Regions from separate parts of the Homo sapiens genome. Here region 2 is linked to region 1. The links are contacts of gene promoters, found by promoter capture Hi-C in blood cells and fetal thymus (Javierre and others, 2016). All regions are on one chromosome and are shown on one strand. The core of a region is centred on a gene start or on the middle of the fragment in contact, and the rest is flanking DNA. Distances in the headings are between cores, read along the strand shown. Region 1 holds the start of GPR22 (G protein-coupled receptor 22). Region 2 overlaps LOC105375444 (a long non-coding RNA gene).

Region 1 (6,370 bases), core at 2,296-4,795:
TGATGCATGTGCTTTATCAAATATAATCAGTATTCAGTTATTCTCATATAGAAAATGAATCACCAATGTTGTTGATTCTCTACGACTTCTGCTACTCCCCACTTGATGGAAGTTCAGCAGATGGTCCATTTCTATTTTTCTGATAAAGTATTTGTTGTGAAAGAAATGTAAAGTTGAGAAGCCAAATAAAATCTCTGAATTGGCATTAAAGCAAAATAAACCTTTTTTCTATGGGCTCCAGTATCAGAGAGAGTTCAAGGTTTACTACGCTAAGTATCCACTGAAAAAGGACCCTTGTCGCAATACAGCTTAAAACTGATTTTCAGCAATTAAAAATTGTTTGTACATAGATACCTTAAAATTGTTTCAAAGTACTTTCAGTTATGGTGAATTCCAATATTTCACAAAGCTGAGTTTTTATTTACAAACTCAGAGAATCTTCAAAACTGTGGCATCAGAACTAGCCACAAGCTGGGTAAGAATGATTTGATATGAATAGTACAATGTAAATATACAATAAATTACTCTGTCATAGTCACGGTTGTCAAAATTTAAGAAAACAAATACATAAAATTAGTTAGAGACTTCCCATAGGAGGAATTAAAACAGATATGCAATTAAAATATTTATAACTAAAAAGAAAAGCACGACTTTTAAAAAAGGATTTTAATTGAGCTGTATTTTGGGGTTAGAATCATATCTAGTGCTTAGTTATTATTAGGAAGTCAAACTGCTCTCCTAGGTTAGTATATAAAGGTTATATTAATTGCACAAAATATATTAAATGCACAAGTGTGAGTGTTACTACGGAAACAAGGATCTTCATAAATTGATAATCTGAAATTATTATTATTTTTTTTTTGAGACCTAGTCTCACCTTGTTGCCCAGGCTGGAGGGGTAGCGGTGCAATCGCAGCTCACTGCAATCTCTGCCACCCAGGTTCAAGCGATTCTCATTCCTCAACCTCGCGAGGAGCTGGACTAGAGGCTTGTGCCACCATGCCTAATTTTTGTATTTTTTGTAGAGACAGGGTTTCACCATGTTGGCCAGACTGGTCTCGAACTCCTGACCTCAAGTGATCCACCCGCCTCAGCCTCCCAAAGTGCTGGGATTACAGGTGAGAGCCACTGCACCCGGTCTGTAATTAATTTTTTTCATGAAAATAATATAATCTGATTCTCAATCAGTAGTTGAGATATTTGCATATTTGTTAAAAACAGGGGAAGTTGGAATTACCTTGTTAAGATTTCGGCATACCTTGTTAATCACCAATTTGTGGTTTTTAAAAAGGAAATAAAATTATACTAAGCACTGTACACAATAAAAAAAGTTTGTGATATCTTATTTATCCTTGGAGACAAGTTACTCATACAGAAAATAAAGAGCACTGTCTGTGCTCGAGCTACCATTATGGCTCAGAAACCCCAGATTTTGTTTTTTTGAAATAATCTGAATATAACTTGAAAACACTGTCTCACAAAGAGTTAAACAAAGCACAAAAATATACTTCAACAAAAGGAATCAAAGTTGACCCAAAGGATGTTTGACTTGCCAAAAGTTATATAGGTAATAAATAGCAACTAAATCTAGATTATCCAATTCTAAGTCCCAAGACCTTCATAATTTTCCAAAGAGAGAAGGCCAACCGCCTAGTACAGCGTGGTTTGCAGTTTTAACATTGACTCTGCTGCTAACTTACCTTGACCCTTTCAAGTCAGTAAATTTCTCTGTACCTTTGTTTCTTCTACTTCATGGGGATATTCTGATGATAAACATAAGCAAATACTTGAACTCTGGCAGAAAAGCACTCTGCTGTGTTAATAATCTCCTCATCCCCATCACATATTTCCACTGATGCTATGCTTTCTCTGGTCTTAGTTTTAAGCTTAAATGAATGTGTGTGCTGTGGTGTGTGTGTGTGTGTGTGTGTTTCGGTGTGTGTAAGTTTTCTTTATAAATGGCTGGCATTCTAGCAAGATCCTTTTCCCCAACTTTCAAAACGCATGAATAGCAGCACAACATTTTCATTTTTAGAATTACCAAAGCCTTGCCACCCAAAGCTGTGCAGAAGATTTTAGAAATTCACAACAAAATTTTCCACCATATTACTCTCAACTTCTATAGAAATGCAACTCACAACTCATATTGGTCAGCTATTCCCCTATAAAGATTCAACACTACCAGTGGAAGATTATAAAAATGCATACGGCTTTTCAAATAATAAGAGAATAGTTCCAATTGCAAATAAAAACCAGTATACATTTTGAAAAATGAAGGTCACTAAATATTCCTAAAATAATGGAAACAGGTGATAATTAACATTCTAACAGTTTAGCCACATGTAATGTCCTCTATTTTGTCAACAGAGTCCAGCTGTTTTATCTACTTAAGTCTAAAAGAAATTTATCCTCATCATTAAAAACAGGAACTTATTTATAGGTAACTAAAATTAACAGAAATTTAATTTTAAATATTTTAATTTTATTTTTAATATTAAATTTAATTTAAATTTAATTTAATTTAAAATTTTTAATTTAAATATTTAAATATTTAATTTTAAATATTCAGTACTTGTACCATTATTTTCATTTTGAAAATGTATCTATCTTATAATGATTTGGCTTTATAACTTATAAAGACATGTAACTTACTTTATCCTTTAAAATAATATTTTACTAACAATATTAGCGTGTAGCTACATATCATATTTAAGAAACAGCAATCTACTAAGAAATGTGCCCAGGTCAAAAATAGAATAAGCCAATTGAAATAAAATATTATAGCAAATGATCAGTATACATCTACCAAATAAAAGGGTTATGAAAGGTGAAGACCAAGTAGTAATCTCCAAAAGTAATACAATGATTACTGATTGAAGTTTTATACCCGAGACTAAGCTACTATAATGAAATGTTTAAAAAATATTTTAGGGTATTATCACCTTAGGTCAATCTGATTATTATTTTGAATGAATGAATGAATGAAATGAATGAATACCCAAATGAATGAATACTGAAGTCATGACAATGTTTAACACCTTGAGATGCTCACAACAATTTGGAATACCCAGAGAAGATGACTTGAATACAAACAAACTATTTAAAATTCACTGTGGCTCACAGTAAAGATGCAGTGGGTTTCTATTTGTAGAACAAAGAATCTCAATCAAAAACCTATATATGACTAAAATATTCTCAAATGCAATTATCAAGGCTTTAGAAAGCATATATACTTTTTACTATGTAATTCTTTCCTGTTCCCCCACCTCCCTGCATTTTTTTTTAATGTTTGGCATAAGTGACCAACAAACCAGAATAGAATACACATTTTTAAAATACTAATTTACACATATTCTATTTAAGAACAACATACAACCACTCATAAATTTAGCCTTTTTAAAAGTGTCCTTTATATAAAACAGTGGGGAGCGGGGGAAATCCCTGCTATACATATGAAGCACAGTTTAAGCCCAATACAACTGACCAATCAAAATTAGTGAATACACTGCATCTCTCTGCAGTGGAGAGAAGCGACAAGGTAGGCTGTCATTCTGCAAAAGCTGCCCGAACAGGCTTTCCTCTGAAAAGCAGTGCCGTTCCTTTTTAGAAAGACTGAATCTAAATGTTGTCTCTGGAGACAAGAAGCCTTCAGTATGTTAAATTACTTTCATTATGTATTTTCAGATGCTTATTGATTCCACAGTAGGAAGAGTGAGAGACTGCAGCAGCCTCTAAGCAGCACTACATGTTCCATACATTAGCAGTACTGCTGAAACAATGGCACACTACAGACACATATTTTCATTAAGGTCATTTTCGAAGAGATGTTTATGACCCTCTTCCCCCAGTCCTCTACTAACAAGTGAACAAAATGAATCAATCCAAACTGGAAATGCTTCAACTACATCAAGAATTTATCAAATCTTTAGCAGAGGTAAGATTTGTTCCTATTATAGTATACAGCTGCTTTTGAACCGGCATAGTGGGGTAAAAATTACTTTGAAAAATTTCAGCCTAAATTTTAAGAGTTTGTTTAATTCTACTTATTGCTAGACATGTATTTTAAGATCTATTTCTTTTAAGACATGCTACATTTTAAATGTAATTTTTTAGGATGCATTGTTAAATACAAATATTCTTTGTAAATTCATTATGAAGACAGCTTTTGAGTCACTTCAGATATACTAAATATTCTTAATGTAATCAGTACAGTTTTTCTCCAGTGTTTCAAAAATGCTTCTGTTTCTTAAAAGAACTAGGTTTACTATTTTGCTGTTACTTATTACTTAATTTTATGTTAAGTTTATTATTTGGCATGTTCACTGAAAATTAATTTGCAGTTACAATTTTTATTACCTTTTGTATTTCAACCACATGAACAATTCATCAATGGAAATTTATAGTATCTTATGAAATCTGTTTTAATGAGTTAAAATTCAAACCATGTGCTAATAATTAGGCAAGTTACAATATTTTTAGAGCAAAAAATGTTGTTAAATTTATTACAAAGAAGAAATAACAGTATGTTTAGTGTATGCTAATTGTTCATCATCTCTGAAAATACAGGTTAGCTTCTAAAATGAGAGCAGAAATTAGTTTTAAAAAATATAGCTTTTCTCTCACAATTGTATTTGAAATGTGAACTCTATTGTTAAATAACATAATATATACAATCTTTATTAGGAAAAAAGACTTATTTAAAGAAACAATTTTATGCATATAGCTGTGGCTCTAATAATAACAGTTTGGTTATTTTGATAACAAATACTGGATAGTTTTTAAACAAAACTAAAGTAACTTGCAATTAATTACAAATTATTAAAAACCCTATTTCTTAACCAATTTTCTTCTTTTCACAAGGGCCAATAGCAGCTAATTCAGTATTTACAACTGACAATATGAAGAATGCAATTGACTGAGCATCTCCCTAGCTGTCTGAACTACGAACTGCAAGATGTTCTTGTAACACGACTTTAAGACATTAAGGAGTTAAAACCAGGGAATAGGTCTACATTACTGATGGAATATAAAAAATCAACTGTATCCTAAGAAGATGCTACATAAAATAACCACAAAAAGAAAAACAATATAACTGTAAAAGCCTGAAAAGAATTTTTAAAAGGGGAAGTTTATACTTTCATATACCAGAATTGTGGAAGTTACTGATTCTGGAAGACATAATGAAACATGAATTTCCAAAAAGAAAAGAAAATACTTTATCAGCACACAAAAGGAAGATTTAGGAAGTGTTTTCTGCACTAAATATTCAGATATTCATATCAATTGGTATGACTAATGGATTTTTCTATCTGACTTTTATGACCAATTATGTATCCTCTTCTAATGAAAACAAACAAAATTAAACAGCAGATGGTTTTTATCAAAAGGACATGGCCTGGATTTATAATATAAAGCAAGTTATGTGATCAAGAAATCATTTCAAAATAGTGAGCACTGCTATTAAAAACAGATTTACAATGGTAACAAAAGGATGTCTAAATATATTTTAGAAGCTACAAACGTTATGTTTCCTTTTTTGTTTTCACATATTCTGGAAAATAAAGAAATATTATCATGTACTCCATCAAAGGGAAACATAATTCCTATCATCTGAGGAAATTCCTCTTGGCCGTGACTTTTTAAAGCAAAACAAATACAAATATTATGTACTGTTCTTTAGAAATCCATCAGCCAACTAAATCTCATAATGCATGCAGTTGAAGTATTGGAGAGAAAACGAAAGAATTCCTACAAGACATGAAATAAAACACAGCTACTTCACTGTTGTCAGGTAAAAATTCATGTCAAAATCTGTCAATGATATCATGTATCAATTTGCCAAAAACTGTCATAGTGAACCAAAAGGCCCATAAGGCAACAGCAAACAGGTAGGTCAGAAGATGCATGCACCCCACCACACTGTTTAACATTTACGAAAGAACAGAATCTTGCTCTAGAGAAAATGTATTTTTCTTAATCATCATTTAACTTGACATTTCTGCTTTATTTAATTATAAATCTAACTGATGTGACAAAGACCTGATGTTTAATCTGTCAGTTCAGAAAATTTGGCACACTTAAAATTTTCCATTTTTATAGGATTTCAATGTTAGCTAAGACCTTAACTTACTCGAATAAATATACCTCTAGTAATACTTCATACTAATTCAAAAGAAATAATGTTACCATTTGTGTTTCTGCAATATTATTCCCAAAAAAGTTCATAAATAAAACTGTATTCTAAAACTTGTCAAATATAACATTAAGTGAAAGTTAACATGAATTTTGAAAATTATTAGCTTTTATAATTTATGTTGAATATGATTTTGCAGTTGAAATGCTGTATTTGAAATGTGAAATATAGTTGGTT
Region 2 (6,370 bases), core at 2,774-5,273, 390 kb after region 1:
CCATTCTAGCCTACAAATTCCTATCAGAACAACAGCCCCCCACTAACTGGATTGTTGTTACGCCTCCACTTTACTCTGTGACACCTGCAGACATCTCTATATTGTACTTTTTCCCAATGAATTAAGATCACAAGAGGATATATGCTTTTCACAATTTGCCTCTGTGTCTTAGTGCAGTGTACATACTATTGTGAAAATATAGATGTAGCTGGGTGTTTGTGTTGGCTCTAAACAAACCAGTTCTTGCAATCCTGGCCAGTTTCCACCTGTGTCTACATATCCCTCAAATACAAGAACAATGCATAGCCCAAAATCAGCCTGTGTGATAGATGCAATCTGGGGAAGGTGAAGTTAACTTATGATGCAAAAAGGCAGAATGGAAAGCCATGGTTGGCAAGATGATGACAAAAGCTAAATAAATGTCCTTGACCTAGAACTACAGAGAAGATGTTCTCTGGGAAGACTTGTGAGTGCACGTCTCAAATTTCGAAACTCTGATCTTCCTTGCCAACCCCTACCCCACCTCTATTCCCCTCCAAAGCCCTAAATATAAATCGCTATGTCTTCTTTCACAAAATAGAGACCAAACTCCTCGTCAGGCACAGAATATACAAGGCTTTTCTTTGGTCTAGACTCTCTACCTTTCCAGCTTCCTCTTCAGTTATCTCCCTCTCATAATCCATGCTCCAGTCAAAGTGAGTTATTGTCCTCATCCTCCATTATGCTGTGTCTTACCCCCAACACCCCCAGGTCATGTTCCCTCTCCACTAGACCCTTTCCTCCCTGCTTCACGTGGTGGAGAGTCTTTGGCACGTGTTGACTCATGTCCTCTGGATCCTCTCCAAATGTGTGAGGACATTCCTCACTTGTGAGCCTTGTTGGGAGACAGTGCTTGTCTTCCTTTACAGAAGTTGAAAAGACCCAGCACTCAATCTGCCGCTACCTTGGCAGATAAGATGTGGGGAGATAGCCTTGGCTTGGTCCATCAGCTGCACCTATTAGCAATATTGAATCTGGAAGTAATGATACAAACAAGCAGGGCAAGGAAGACTCCCTTTGGCCGTGGTGGTTGGCAGGAGTGAGGGGGGCAGCAGCATGTGATTTCCAGCAGCCAGTCTGTGATGCCACACCACCAATGGCATCCTCACCTCACTGGCACCACTTTCCCAAATCTTGTTCTCCATGTTTCCTAGAAATTGTATGATCATCTGATAGTCTCTCTATACATTCTCTGCTTAAAATGGCCAGTCTGTTTCTGTCACTTGCAATGAAGACTCTGACTGGCTGGGCACAGTGGCTCATGCCTGTAATCCCAGCACCTTTGGAAGGCCAAGGTGGAAGGATCCCTTGAGGCCAGGAATTCAAGATCAGCCTGGACAACATAGCAGACCCCATCTCTACCAAAAAACAGCTGGGCATGATGGTGCATGCCTGTAGTCAAAGCTACTAGGGAGGCTGAGGCAGGAGGATCACTTGAGCCCAGGAGTTTGAGGCTGCAGAACAAGACCCTGTTTCTTAACAAAAAGAAAGCCTTTGATATACCTGGCCAGTTTCTATTTGTCTTTTGAGACTCCTCTCAGTGACTATTTTCTTGGAAAGCAGTGCTCATCCCTGCCCCACTCCTAGCCAGTGTTTCTCCTATAGACTCCCATAAAAGTCTGGTCCATTCTGGCTCAGCGTTTATGCTGACATTAATAGCATTAGTCATATTATTAATGCTGACATTAATCACAGCATTTATTAACACTGTGTCAGGACCTGCCACTAACTCACTTGTCCCCCTTCTGGGCTGTAAGTTCTTGAGGACACAGACTAGGTTTTGCCCCTCTCTATCCCTAGAACCCAGAACAGTATGTTAACATGGCATGCAGTAATAGCATTACAGCAACAGTACTAATACCAGTAATAACAATAACTTTTATTGAGCACCTATTATGTGCCAAGGTGCAGAAAAAAATGCTTATTTGATAAATAATGTACACTGAAAATTGCTCACCGAATATTTTTGAATACTTTCATACTCACAGAGTATTTTTGTATTTTGAATACAGGCAACCCTGAGGAAAAATTGGTACATCCCACTTCACCAATTAATTCCCTTTTCATTTTCTCTCTCTTTTCTCCTTCTGGATATGTCTCTTGTGTTCCGCTCTTGCCCTCAAATAGATGTTATTTAATACCTAGAAAGATGAATAGCAGTGGCTACAGTGTTAGTTGCTAGTGACTGCGCTTGCCTTTCAGAAGAAGCTTCTTATAGTGTGAAAAGTTTTCAGAAGGAATGAGGTCTTTATTGTGGAATGCCTTACAGTAGGCCATACTTGTTTTTATAGCTTGGGTGCAGGAGCTGGAAATAGAGGGAGAATGCCTATGTACAAGTGTGCGAAGGAGAGGGAGAAGCTGCTCTCACCCCACTCCTGACTTCTTGTCTGCTCTCTTCTCAGCAAAGTCCTCTTCTGGGGTCTTCCTAGGCCTCACAAAGCTGCTCCCCAGGCCTTGGCCAACCACCTTCCCTGGAGCAGGCTCTCGGTGAGAAAACCTCATGGAGAGAAGAGGCCAGGAGTCCATGGCCACTCCTGTTTACTTTCCCATTCCCATCCTGCATGTTCCTGCCTCCTGCCTGAGTGAACACAGATTGACATGCCCTCTGTGAATGGCTGCAGACCCTTGTTCCAGTTCAGCTCTGTCCAGCACCTGTCATATGTATTACCTGAAAGAAAAACCTGAGATCAGCAGAAGATCCTCAGAGCAGACAAAAATTTTTCTTAAAAACAACAAGACAAGTGAAAAACAGGACAAGGGTGGGGACAGGACAACAGCAGGCTGCACCCAGAGAGTGCACCCAGGTCATCGGCTGTTCTTCATTTCTGACTTCCTGCTGGCTGTCCTGTGAGGTTGAGGTTACGTGGTTAGAGAAAGCCGGTTACTTGTTTCAAAACAAACAAAGTCCTCAAATCCTTTGAACAGCTAAAGGAATAGAGCACTCCTTGAATATGTATTCTTTCATATCCTCTGAACAGATCTTTATTTACAAGGAAGGCTGGTCTTGGCTGGAAAAATGGTAGTCAGATGTAGATCAAAATGATAATCTCAGAACACAGCACCAAGTGTCTTTTGCATGGGCCATGGGACTTAATGTCTTGATAGAACAGAGGATGTCAAGGAGAAAAAACTGAAGGCCACAAGAAAATGTGAATTTTTTAAATAGTTTACTCTGGTTGGAGGTTTGCCATATTCCTGACTCAACTTTATAATGTTTCCCATTTCTAAGCCAAATGGCTCAGAAGTGTGGCTGGGGTGTGACCTTGACCAGGTACAACCATGGCAATGAGTCTCTATTCTTTTTACTTTGGAATCCAACCAACACGTTAAAGCTCTTTGAATGTGGGTATCATATGAGTCAGTGCATGTGTGCTGACTGCCTGCTGTCCTCATAACACAAAGTGGAGTGGGGGCTATGGAGGCTACTGGATTATTTCCGTCAGTGTATACAGCAAAACTAAATTAATCCCCAAGTTTAGGCTTTTTGACCTCGAGTATCAAGACTAGTTTACTTGCATTGTGCAAATTAGTCACCAACCTACTTTGTATTATAGAGAGTTTTAAACTTTTGTGTATTTCTCCAGATTTGCATCAATGAGATTTTTGAAGTCAGCTTTTAAAATAAATACTAAAATGTAACTGCTTTTGGGATTCTTTTTCTTTATCCACCACACCACGAAAGTAGTAAGTTCCAACACTTCTCACCATTTGCAGTGCCACAATCTGGTTCAAGTCACCGTCAGCTCCCCCTTCAACACTGAGGAAGCCTCCAGGCCCATCTCCTGCCTCCAGTCTTATCCCACTCTCCTCCCTGTCAAGCACAGTCCATACAACACGCAGCAGGCAGAGGTATCTTTACCAGGTGTAAATCAGGTTACATAACTCTCTGGTTTAAAACTCTCCAAGGCTTCCTCTTACAACTAGAGAAAAACTTACCCTCCAGTCTTGGCCTACCAAACCCGCCTGATTGGGCTCCTTCATGGCTCTCCCAAGTGACCCACAACTTGCTTCCTGGTCCTCAGCACTCCAGTCCCTTCAGCTTTCTATCTCTTGAACGAATGCACCAAGCTCAGCCCTGCTCTGGGCCTTTGCACTTGTTCCTCCTTCTGCTGCGTGCCTCTTGCCTAGATCTTTGCACGGCTGTCCCCCTCTCATTATCTGGGTCTCAATTCACATCCACTCAACAAACCACTCTAGATAAATCAGCACTCTCTGCCCACTTCTTTTTTTTGTTGAGATGGAGTCTTGCTTGTCACCCAGGCTGGAATGCGGTGGTGCAATCTCGGCTCACTGCAACCTCTGCCTCCCGGGTTCAAGTGATTCTCCTGCCTCAGGCTCTGGAGTAGCTGGGACTACAGGCGCCCGCCACCACGCCCAGCTAATTTTTTGTGTTTTCAGTAGAGACGGGGTTTCACCGTGTTGGCCAGGATGGTCCGGATCTCCTGACCTCGTGATCTGCCCACCTCGGCCTCCCAAAGTGCTGGGATTACAGGCGTGACCCACTGCACCCGGCCTCTCTGCCCATTTCTACCACTCTCTCATTATCCTATTAGAGCCACGTCTGGCACTTAGCAGGACTTAAAACTAAATTATTTTAAAGCCCTGTTTATGTGTTTTTTGCTTGTTTTCCCCCAACCCACAAACCAGCCCAATATGAGAACATGAGCTCATTGAAGGCAGGAACTCAGATCCTTGCGGTCCCTGCTGTTCCCACTCCTGTCCCCCCATACCTGGAGCAGTACCCAGCCTAATACATATTTATTGACTATCTGATAACTTAACAAATTTAACATTCAGTAAAATTTACCCGATAAATGAACGAATGATTAGGGAACCACATGCATGACTCTCAACTACATAGTGTAAAGTTCCACCTACATGGCATTCTGGAAAAGACAAAACCATAGGGATAAAAAATAGATCAGTAGTTACCAGAAACTGGGTTTGGGATGTTAAGGGCTGACTATAAAGGGACATAAGGGAACTTTTTTGGATGATGGAACCCTTCTATATTTTGTTTCTGATGGCAGTTTCGTGTTAAAAATCATAGAATTGGTTGGCTAAACAGGATAAATTGTGTGTACGCAAGTTATACCTCAACAAACTGGATTTTATTTAATTGCCTGACAGATCTTTCACTTACCCTGGAATAAGCACCGAATGGTTTGTAGAAACGCTCTCATATTGGCCCTTTGTGAACAATCTCCATGTACACATATTCTGAGTGCAGAAACCCCGGGAGCAGCATGGTGGAGTAGAAAAGTATGAGCTGGGCATTAGACGGGCTGGGGTTTGAGTTTTGGCTTTGTTGCTTGTGTACTTCAGTTAGGATTTCTTAGTTGCAAGCAGCCCAGAACAGCTCTGGCCAGCCTCACCATGCCTTGGCTATGATAAAAGCCATAAAGAGGAATGGCACCGCTCCTTGATGCTTGTTGGCAGCAGGTACCTGGAATTATGCTCCCACCAAGACTGCATGCATGGGAGGGATGGGATTCCCCCAGAGAAAACCAGGGTGCTCTTAGGATGCTAGGCAGCCCAAACCAACAAACATCTAATGTATTGTGTGACCTTACATAACCTCTCTGAATCTCAATTTCCTCATACTTAATACCTACCTCTTAGAGTTTTAAGAATTTAACAAGATAACTATGTAGAAGGCCTAGAACATAATGTTGCTTTATAAATGTTATTTCTCTTTTCTTCTTCCTTTTGGTCTACATGTCTGAAACGTCTACCTCTAAGCACTCCTAAATTCAGTTAAAAGCTTAGTAATTTATCTACCTCTCCAAGCTAGAAGTCAGGAGTGAGTGTCAGTCGATTTTCTCATTGTTTTCACCTCCTAAATAAAGCATATACATCTCTCCTGGACTATTACATAAGTTTTACAACTGATCCACCTGCCTCTCCTCTCTGACTCTCTCTGCCGCTCTCCCTGAGGCAGTATAATATAATGACAAAGTGCATGGACCCTGGAGCCAAACCAACTGCCTCTAAATCTTGGCTTTGCTCCTTAACTACCATACAACCTCAATCAAGTTGCACAATCTTAGTGTGCCTGTTTCGTCATGTGTAAATTGGGGATAATATTCCTACCTCAAAGAGTTGTTCGGGGATCAAGTGATTTACTATACGTAGGCACTTAGAACAGTGCTTCGGTAATGGCAAGCGCTATCCATGCGTTTGTTCAGTAAATCCACCTTTTTACTGCTTCCAGAATGACCTTGCTAAAATGTAAATGTGAACCTTCCTCATAGAGAAGCCATGTCCTCCTGTCTAACCCCTTTTACTTTTTCCAGCAGCCTTCTCCAACTACCTGCCTCAAGTTGGCACT

What was found. Contacts are between HindIII fragments. The CHiCAGO score rates a contact against its expected background, and 5 or more counts as called.
Region 2: a fragment that was not itself captured here is called in contact with the fragment with the promoter of GPR22 in region 1 in 1 of 17 cell types (naive CD8 T cells); the score reaches 5.6 in naive CD8 T cells.

The regions. Positions count from the first base shown.
Region 1 is chr7:107,466,512-107,472,881 of GRCh38, forward strand. It overlaps GPR22 (G protein-coupled receptor 22), which reads left to right and starts at 3,546. Exons shown (of 3, transcript NM_005295.3): 1 at 3,546-3,934; 2 at 4,861-5,791. The region is part of intron 6 of COG5 (component of oligomeric golgi complex 5); the gene reads right to left. The HindIII fragment of the contact is 4,703 bases long and covers 1,885-6,370 here.
Region 2 is chr7:107,854,410-107,860,779 of GRCh38, forward strand. It overlaps LOC105375444 (a long non-coding RNA gene), which reads right to left. Exons shown (of 3, transcript XR_927850.3): 3 at 2,070-2,707. Among named protein-coding and RNA genes, the nearest start is that of DLD, 34 kb to the right of the region's middle. The HindIII fragment of the contact is 3,556 bases long and covers 2,246-5,801 here.